Regions from separate parts of the Homo sapiens genome. Here region 1 is linked to region 2. The links are contacts of gene promoters, found by promoter capture Hi-C in blood cells and fetal thymus (Javierre and others, 2016). All regions are on one chromosome and are shown on one strand. Each heading gives the region's core, a stretch centred on a gene start or on the middle of the fragment in contact. The rest is flanking DNA. Distances are from core to core; before and after follow the strand shown. Region 1 has its middle 29 kb from the start of SRD5A3. Region 2 holds the start of CLOCK (clock circadian regulator).

Evidence for each region. The method cuts DNA at HindIII sites, captures the fragments that hold promoters and counts their contacts. A CHiCAGO score of 5 or more calls a contact.
Region 1: a fragment that was not itself captured here is called in contact with the fragment with the promoter of CLOCK in region 2 in 6 of 17 cell types (naive CD8 T cells, activated CD4 T cells, naive CD4 T cells and 3 more); the score reaches 7.1 in naive CD8 T cells.

Annotation. Positions count from the first base shown.
Region 1 is chr4:55,314,967-55,318,776 of GRCh38, reverse strand. No RefSeq gene overlaps it. Among named protein-coding and RNA genes, the nearest start is that of SRD5A3, 29 kb to the left of the region's middle. The HindIII fragment of the contact is 3,281 bases long and covers 818-3,810 here.
Region 2 is chr4:55,545,340-55,549,018 of GRCh38, reverse strand. CLOCK (clock circadian regulator) reads left to right here and starts at 2,110. Exons shown (of 23, transcript NM_004898.4): 1 at 2,110-2,237. LOC124900704 (a long non-coding RNA gene) reads right to left here and starts at 3,154. Exons shown (of 2, transcript XR_007058122.1): 1 at 2,409-3,154; 2 at 1,130-1,403. RefSeq lists silencers at 1,835-2,204, 2,265-2,364, 2,485-3,114. The HindIII fragment of the contact is 4,589 bases long and covers 1-3,679 here.

The sequences.
Region 1 (3,810 bases), core at 1,209-3,708, 230 kb after region 2:
TGCACAGATTTGCTCATATCATTGAGGGACCAATGGTTAGGGTAAGGCACAGAGGTGCAGTGGAAGGAGTATAGGCTTTGTACTGAACGAAACTGAGTTTGAATCTCTGCTCAACTCCTAAGTGACCCTGGAAAACCCCTTAACTTTTCAGCCTTAATTTCCTCCTATGGAAATGCAAACATCATCTGCCTTGATAACCTTAAGTTGTGGTGAGAATCATATTAGGTAATGGAAAGGAAAGTGCTTTGTAAATGGTTGAGTGCTATAAATATAAAGTCTAATGATAATAATAACATACAGAATTAATTCATCTTGCATCGATGGATTTCTGCAGATCTGAGGTTTGGCTCACTGATGAAATCTTGTTTCCTTTTCTTTGTTAAATAACAGATGGGAGGACTTGGTCAGCCTCCATCAGACGGAATTAGTCATATTCCAATGTAGAAGAGCCAGCCAGCACCTTGCTCTCAGGGCCTCAGCTCTTACTCTCTACATATCTATATTGTGAAAAGTACACAGTGCAGTCCCCACCCAAGCCACACGCTAGACAACTTACCTAGGCTTTCTTATGAACTCTCTGCTTTACAGGAGAGAAAACTGAGAATCCAAAAATGAAGATACTCACTCAAGTTCACACAGCTATTAAGTTATAGGGCCAGGATTCTAAGATAAGGACCCTTTTTTCTCATGGGGAATATAGAGGTATGGTTTTCCCTGCCTTACCTTCCCCTTCTCCTTCCTCTTCCTCCTTGCCCTCTTCCCTCCTGCTCCCTCTCTTCCTCTTTCCCCCTGCTTCTCTTTCTCGTGATATGAAGCTTTCTTCACCAAAGAAGCAGGAGAAGTTTAAAAGGATTAAAACACAGGCGAGCCTGTGGAAAGCAGTTTGGCAATTTCTCAAAAAACTTAAAACAGAATTACTATTCGACCCAGCAATCCCATTATGGGGTGCATACCCAAAGGAATAGAAATCGTTCAACTGTAAAGACACATGCACATGTATGTTCATTGCAGTACTATTCACGATAGCAAAGACATGAAATCAATCTAATATCCATCAGTGGTAGGCTAGGTAAAGAAACTATGGCACATATACATCATGGAATACTATGCAGCCATAAAAAGAGCAAGATCATGACCTTGGCAGCAACATGGATGGAGCTGGAGGCCATTATCCTAAGCAAACTAACACAGGAACAGAAAACCAAATACCACATGTTCTCACTTATAAGTGGAAGCTAAACATTGAGTACACATGGAGACAGAGAAGAGAACAAGAGCCACTGGAGCTTACCTGAGAGTGAAGAGTGGGAGGAAGGAGAGGGTTGAAAAACTACCTGTTGGGTACCATGCTCATGACCTGGGTGATGAAATAATCTATATGCCAAACACCCACAAGACATAATTTACCTATATAACAAACTTGTACATATATCCTTGAAACTAAAATAAAAGTTAAGAACAGACAGGTGAGCAAAAGTTGAAACTCTTTGCTAAATATGGCTTTTCAAGTATCCTGAGGAGAGCACCAAAGAAGTGAACCTGTGAATACATGGAGTTTCTTGGTGAGCATATCCCACATGGGTTTGTGACTTTCTCTGTAAGAGCTTCTTTCTTTTAAAAATGTTGTTCATATAAATTGCATAAAAATACATGAATACATTTTCATTGTAAATTTTAAAATTGAACATTACAGGTAAAGTTAACATCCCTTTTGACCTCCTTTTTCTCAGTCCCTTCCCCAGAGGTTGCTGTCATTTTAGTATGTATGTTTTTAGAACTTTAAAAATTAGTTTATACACATTTATCTAGATCTAGATAAATATATATATCAATTGTATATGTATCAATTGTACTTATCATTCTATAGTTTGTTGAAAAATATTTATTCAATAACATAATTTGGAGATATTCCCACATCTGGACACAAACATCTGCTTCATTCTTTTACTGACACATAGTGTGAAGCCATTGTAATTTAAGCATTTCCCTACTGATGAACCTTTTTTTTTTTTTTTTTTTTTTTAAGACGGAGTCTCACTCTGTCACCAGGCTGGAGTGCAGTGGTGTGATCTTGGCTCACTGCAACCTCCGCCTCCCAGGTTTAAGTGATTCTTCTGCCTCAGCCTCCCGAGTAGCTGGTATTACAGGCATGTGCCACCACGCCCAGCTAATTTTTGTATTTTTAGTAGAGACAGCATTTCACCATGTTGGCCAAGATGTTTCAATCTCTTGACCTTGTGATCCGCCCACCTTGGCCTCCCAAAGTGCTGGGATTACAGGCATGAGCCACCGCTCCTGGCCTTACTGATGAACTTTTAAAGGCGGTTTTCATTCTATTGTAAACAGTGCTCCAATGAAAAACTTATACACATATGTGGGTGTTTCTCTAAGGTGGATGCTATAATACTGGTTGGTTGGCTCCCATCCACCACTTAACCTCTGTTCTCAAAAGGGAGTTACCATGATCTGTTGGGGTTTTCTAATTTCAGCAAATTGTCAGTTGTATACATTATAATTTTCATGATCTTTACTTTTGTGCTTTTGTGACAGTACAGATTAAAAAATATGGTTTGCATTACTCTTAGAATAATCAACCCTGCACTTGACATGGTTGAGGGGCATGTGTGTATAGTTTATAGATTAATAGTATAGTCCGAATTGCCCTCCAAAGTGGCTATACCAACATATGCTCCTGCCAACACTGTCAAGAAAACTCATTTCCTCAAGTCCTCCCCAACATCTGATATTTTTCGACATTACACATTTTGCCAATCTAATGGAATGAAGAAAAATAACATTTCATGGACGGGTGCAGTGGCTCACACCTGTAATCCCAGCACTTTGGAAGGCCAAGGCAGAGCGATCACTTGAAGTCAGGAGTGCGAGACCAGCCTGGCCAACATGGTGAAACCCTATCTCTACCAAAAATACAAAAATTAGCTGGGCATGATGGTGCACGCCTGTAATTCCAGCTACTCAGGAGGCTGTGGCAGGAGAACTGCTTGAACCTGGGAGGCAGAGGTGGCAGTGAGCCAAGATCGTGCCACTGCACTCCAGCCTGGGCTACAGAGTGAGACTCCATCTCAAAACAACAACAAGAACAACAACAACAAATTTCATTGTTGGTTTAATTTGCATCTTTATTCTGCTTTTCTTCTTAGGCAAAAATGTCCTCATTAGGGAGTTCTTATGTCCTTATCAAGCAGTGGGGAGTCCATCCCCAGATCTGTTCTATCCCAGCACCCCTGGGTGTGGGCTGGAGAAGATGCCTGGAACAGTGCGGAGGTCTGGAGCTCCACATGTGCACACCTCTCCCCCAGGGCTCAGCTCCTATTTTGCAACTTCTGATAGCTTGCCTATCCATGATCCAGCTCTAGAATATTAGGATATGTTTAGAAATGCTGTAAAATGATCACATGCCAGCTCTCCCCTTGTTTTCCTATTTATACATACTGTATGTTATGCCAGATATGCCAATTGTGTTTAAATTGAGGACCTACACTGTGGAATTTTTTTTTTTTTTTTGAGATGGAGTCTCACTCTATTGCCCAGGCTGGAGTGCAGTGGTGCGATCTCGGCTCACTGCAAGCTCCACCTCCTGGGTTCACACCATTCTCCTGCCTCAGCCTCCCGAGTAGCTGGAACTACAGCCACCTGCCACCATGCCCGGCTAATTTTTGTATTTTTAGTAGAGACGGGGTTTCACCATGTTGGCCAGGATGGTCTCAATCTCTTGACCTCATGATCCACCCTCCTCGGCCTCCCAAAGTACACTGTGGAATTTTAACAAAACAGAAAAGTTTTGTGATT
Region 2 (3,679 bases), core at 861-3,360:
GCAGAGGTTTCAGTGAGCTGAGATCATGCCACTGTACTCCAGCTGGGCAACAGAGCAAGACTCTGTCTCAAAAAATCTGTCTCAAAAAAAAGACATATCCAGTACATTTTTTCTTTTCTTGGAGAGAATGTGGGAGAAAGGAGAAGCTGTGAACTGAACCATGGGAAATGTTCAAGCAGTGAGAGAGGACTGAGCAGAAAAACGGGGGATTATCAACAGGTCTTGGTAAATAATTAAATACAGTGAAAGAGGGAGGAGTCAAAGATGGACATGGTTTGATCTTGGTGACTGAGAGGACAATGAAATCATTAAAAAGGGCAAAGGTATTTTGAAGATAATATGTTCTAGATGATGGGGAATATAAGGAGGGATCAGTGTCTCTAGAATAAAATTCAAAAATCCATCCTAGGGAAAGCATTCAAGCCCTCTCTTGTCTGGCTGCAACCTACCTTATCAGTATTAATAACTTTGCCTCCGTCTTGCTACCTACCTCTTGTCAGTCGGGACTCTTGATTACATGTGAAAGAAAACCTCTCACTGGTTTAAGCAATAAAACAGATGCAAGAATTTACTGACTGGTTTAACGAAATTTCCAGAGGAATCTAATCTACATTTGTTTCCAGGCCTCAAACATGTCTTTAGGCCAAACCTGTCTTCAAATCTGCTTTTTTTCCGTGTTGCCTTCTTTCTCAGAATTCACGTGTGGAAAGATGGCTCCAGGTCTCCATTCTCCCAGATTTAAACCCATTGGTAAAGACGTAACACCCTTCTTAGGAACCGTAGTTTGCAACCGAGGATTAAACTCAAATATGCCTTCCCCTTGTGTCCTGCTCAGACCATATGGACTGAGAGTGGATAAATGATAGTTCTTCAAAAGAAATTATCAGAATAGGGAATGAATGCTGAACAGGCAAAAATGTCGACCAAAATATCTTCTGCTATATGATGGGGTAAATTAACAAATCATGTTTTCCCACTCCTGAAAGAAAAATCCTTAGGTGCAGGATCAAGGATCTGAATAAGTGCTTCAGTTTGATGTTCTTTTGCCCAGAGCATACAGCAAGAATTGAAAATGTTTACTGAGGTGACTGTTACTTTAAAGGGAGGATTTTACGGCCAGAAAAGTGCATTTTTTGAAAGAAAAAGATGGCTTTTATTTCAAATCCAAAAGATATTCATTAAAACATAGGAATTACTAGGAATTAAGACTGTAAAGATCTCTTTTCCAGTAGAAGCACTGAAATGTGCTTTCTCATGTGGACCAAATGTGCCTTAACGCATCAAGATAAGTAATTTCCCGAAGATAAGTAGTAGTCACACGTTGTTCCAACGAGGAAATCCATGCAAATTAGGGTCCTGGTTTATTTCTGATGCTTCATTCTCCATCTTCCATTACACTGTCACTTGATTTTTAATAAAAGGGCAAGGGAAAAATCTCCAAATGAGCAAATAAATCCCGACCTCCTTTCGCTTCCCTCCTCTGGCCGAGGGCGCATGCCCTGTCTCCCCAGGCCCACCCACCAAGAAGAAGCAACCCAAGCCGCGCTCCCTCAGGAGATGGGAGAAGATGTTACTGGCGGTCCAGGCGCCTTTGCAACTCTTCTCTCCCAGCACCAGGAGAGGAAACACGAATGATGCCACTGGGGGAAAAAGTCTCCTGCCAACACCCGAAAAATCTAAGCTGGCGTCGGCAGTGTTTTGCTTTGGAAGGGAGAGCGGGTTCCTTTTCTGGCCTCTGGATCCCTCATCCGGCAGGAAGCTCTTCTTCCTCCTCCTAGCCCCCGGCATACGGGGGGAAAGCCAAAGAGCCTCCAGGACCTAAGGCTAGCGCTCTGCCGGCCGGCCGCGCCCTCCACCCGACCAGGCCCCGCCTCCCCGGCTTTCTAGTAACCGGCGCCGTTCCCGGCCGGGGCAGGGAACGGTGCGCCTGCAGAGCCAGATTTCGGCCCAAGGGGCGCGGGAGTCTCTTCGGGCGTCCGGGATCCCCTGGCGCGGCTCCGTGCTGCCTAACGGGGCAAGTCGCATGCGCACCGAGCCGCGCTGGGGAAAGGGAGAGTGAGGGGAGGGGCGAGCGCAGAGCCTCCGCCGGCCGTCTGAGCCCGCGGGGTCGCTGACGACGCATGCGCCGGGAGGGGGCGCAATCACGGACTCGGCTTGCGGCTGCCGGTTTAAAAAAGGAAACCCCGGAGAGCGAGAGCGCGAAGGAAATCTGGCCGCCGCCGCCGCGAGCGCTCCCGGTGAGAGGCGCCCGCCCGGTGGGCCCAGGGCCTGCCGAGTGCCGGTTGGCTTCCTTGGCGGCGCATGCGCGCTCCTGGGCTGGTGGAGGAGGGGAAGGGAAGGGAGGGGGAGGAGGAGCTGGCCACAGGAGCGGCGAATTTTTGGGGGGGTGGGTGGGGGGCGCCACTCACAGCCCCAGGTGCTGCTGGAGGTGGGAGCCGCGGCGCCTCCTGGACACAGGCGGGGTAGTGGTTCCGAGTCACCGCAGCGGGAGACCTGGGTGGGGGAGGGAAGAAGCCGGAGCCGCCGCAAGCCACACGGTGAGGGCGCGGGGAAGGGGAGGGAGCGGGGGGCGGCGTGTGTGGGGCCGGGGGGCGGCGGCCAAGGGTGGGGAAGGCGGGAGCTGAAGCCCAAGTTTGGCGTGTCGTTCTAGTGTGTCTTTTCCCGGGACTTCGGGCCGAGGCCCGCCCTGCCTGAGAGGCCCTCTGGGGCAGCTGGGGTTACCTGCGGGGCAGGGGCGGGAGTGGGGTGCACGGCGGGGCCGGGCGGCTTGAGGGCGCCCGGAGCTGCGGCCGATTCCAGCAGCTGGGAGGCGGGGAAAGACGGGGACCGGGTGCCGAGAGAGCTTTCGCTGGGGACCCGCTAGGCCTTGTGACCCACTTTATTCCTGTCACCACTCGGGCACGTTTGGAGCAGCGCCCAATGGGGCGCCGGGGCGGCCAGCTCCTCCGGGGAACCCCCGCCCTCCCGGCGCCCGGCCCGCGTGCCGCAGTCCGCAGTCCGAACGGCCGCCGTTGCCGGCCGCGGGCTGGTTCCGTTAGTGGTGGTGGTTCCGGGGTTCCGTTCCTAGGCAGCGCGCGGCTATTAGCGTCTGACTCCAGCGACCGCGCGCGGGTTCGAGGGTTGGCGGCGAGGCGCTCGGTTTCTCTTCTTCCGTCCACCCGCGCTTCCCGTTCCCCGTCACCGCCGCTGGCGTTTGTAGATTTCTTTCCGCCAGTGAAGCTGGGTTTTCTGGAGTTGGCTCTGGCGCTCTGGCCCCTGGAGTGTAATTTCCTACACGCAGCGCCGCAGAGTTTATATTCTTTGAAAGTGTTTGTAGCTTTGTAGAGGTCCTCTTGTTGATGGTAGGTGAGCCTAATTCTGCAAGATAAAAGCCTAGTCTCTGACCTGGCAGATGAAAGATCAAATCAGATTGTGGTTTCCTGCTATTAGAATGCCGTGCTATTAGACTTTAAGGCTTTTTAGCCTTCTTTAAAAAATAAAAAAATTTTTACAGTGGAAGAAAAGCACAAGAAGTAAACTTTTACAGTCGTTGATTTGACTATAACGCTGATCCCCCCAAATCAAAGGTAATTTCACTTTGAAGATTGCGTTCTGATTTGTAGCTTTAAGCGATTAGAGAAAATTGTGCAATATTCCCCTCTACCTGTTTGAAAATAAACATTCTTAAAAGGATGTAATT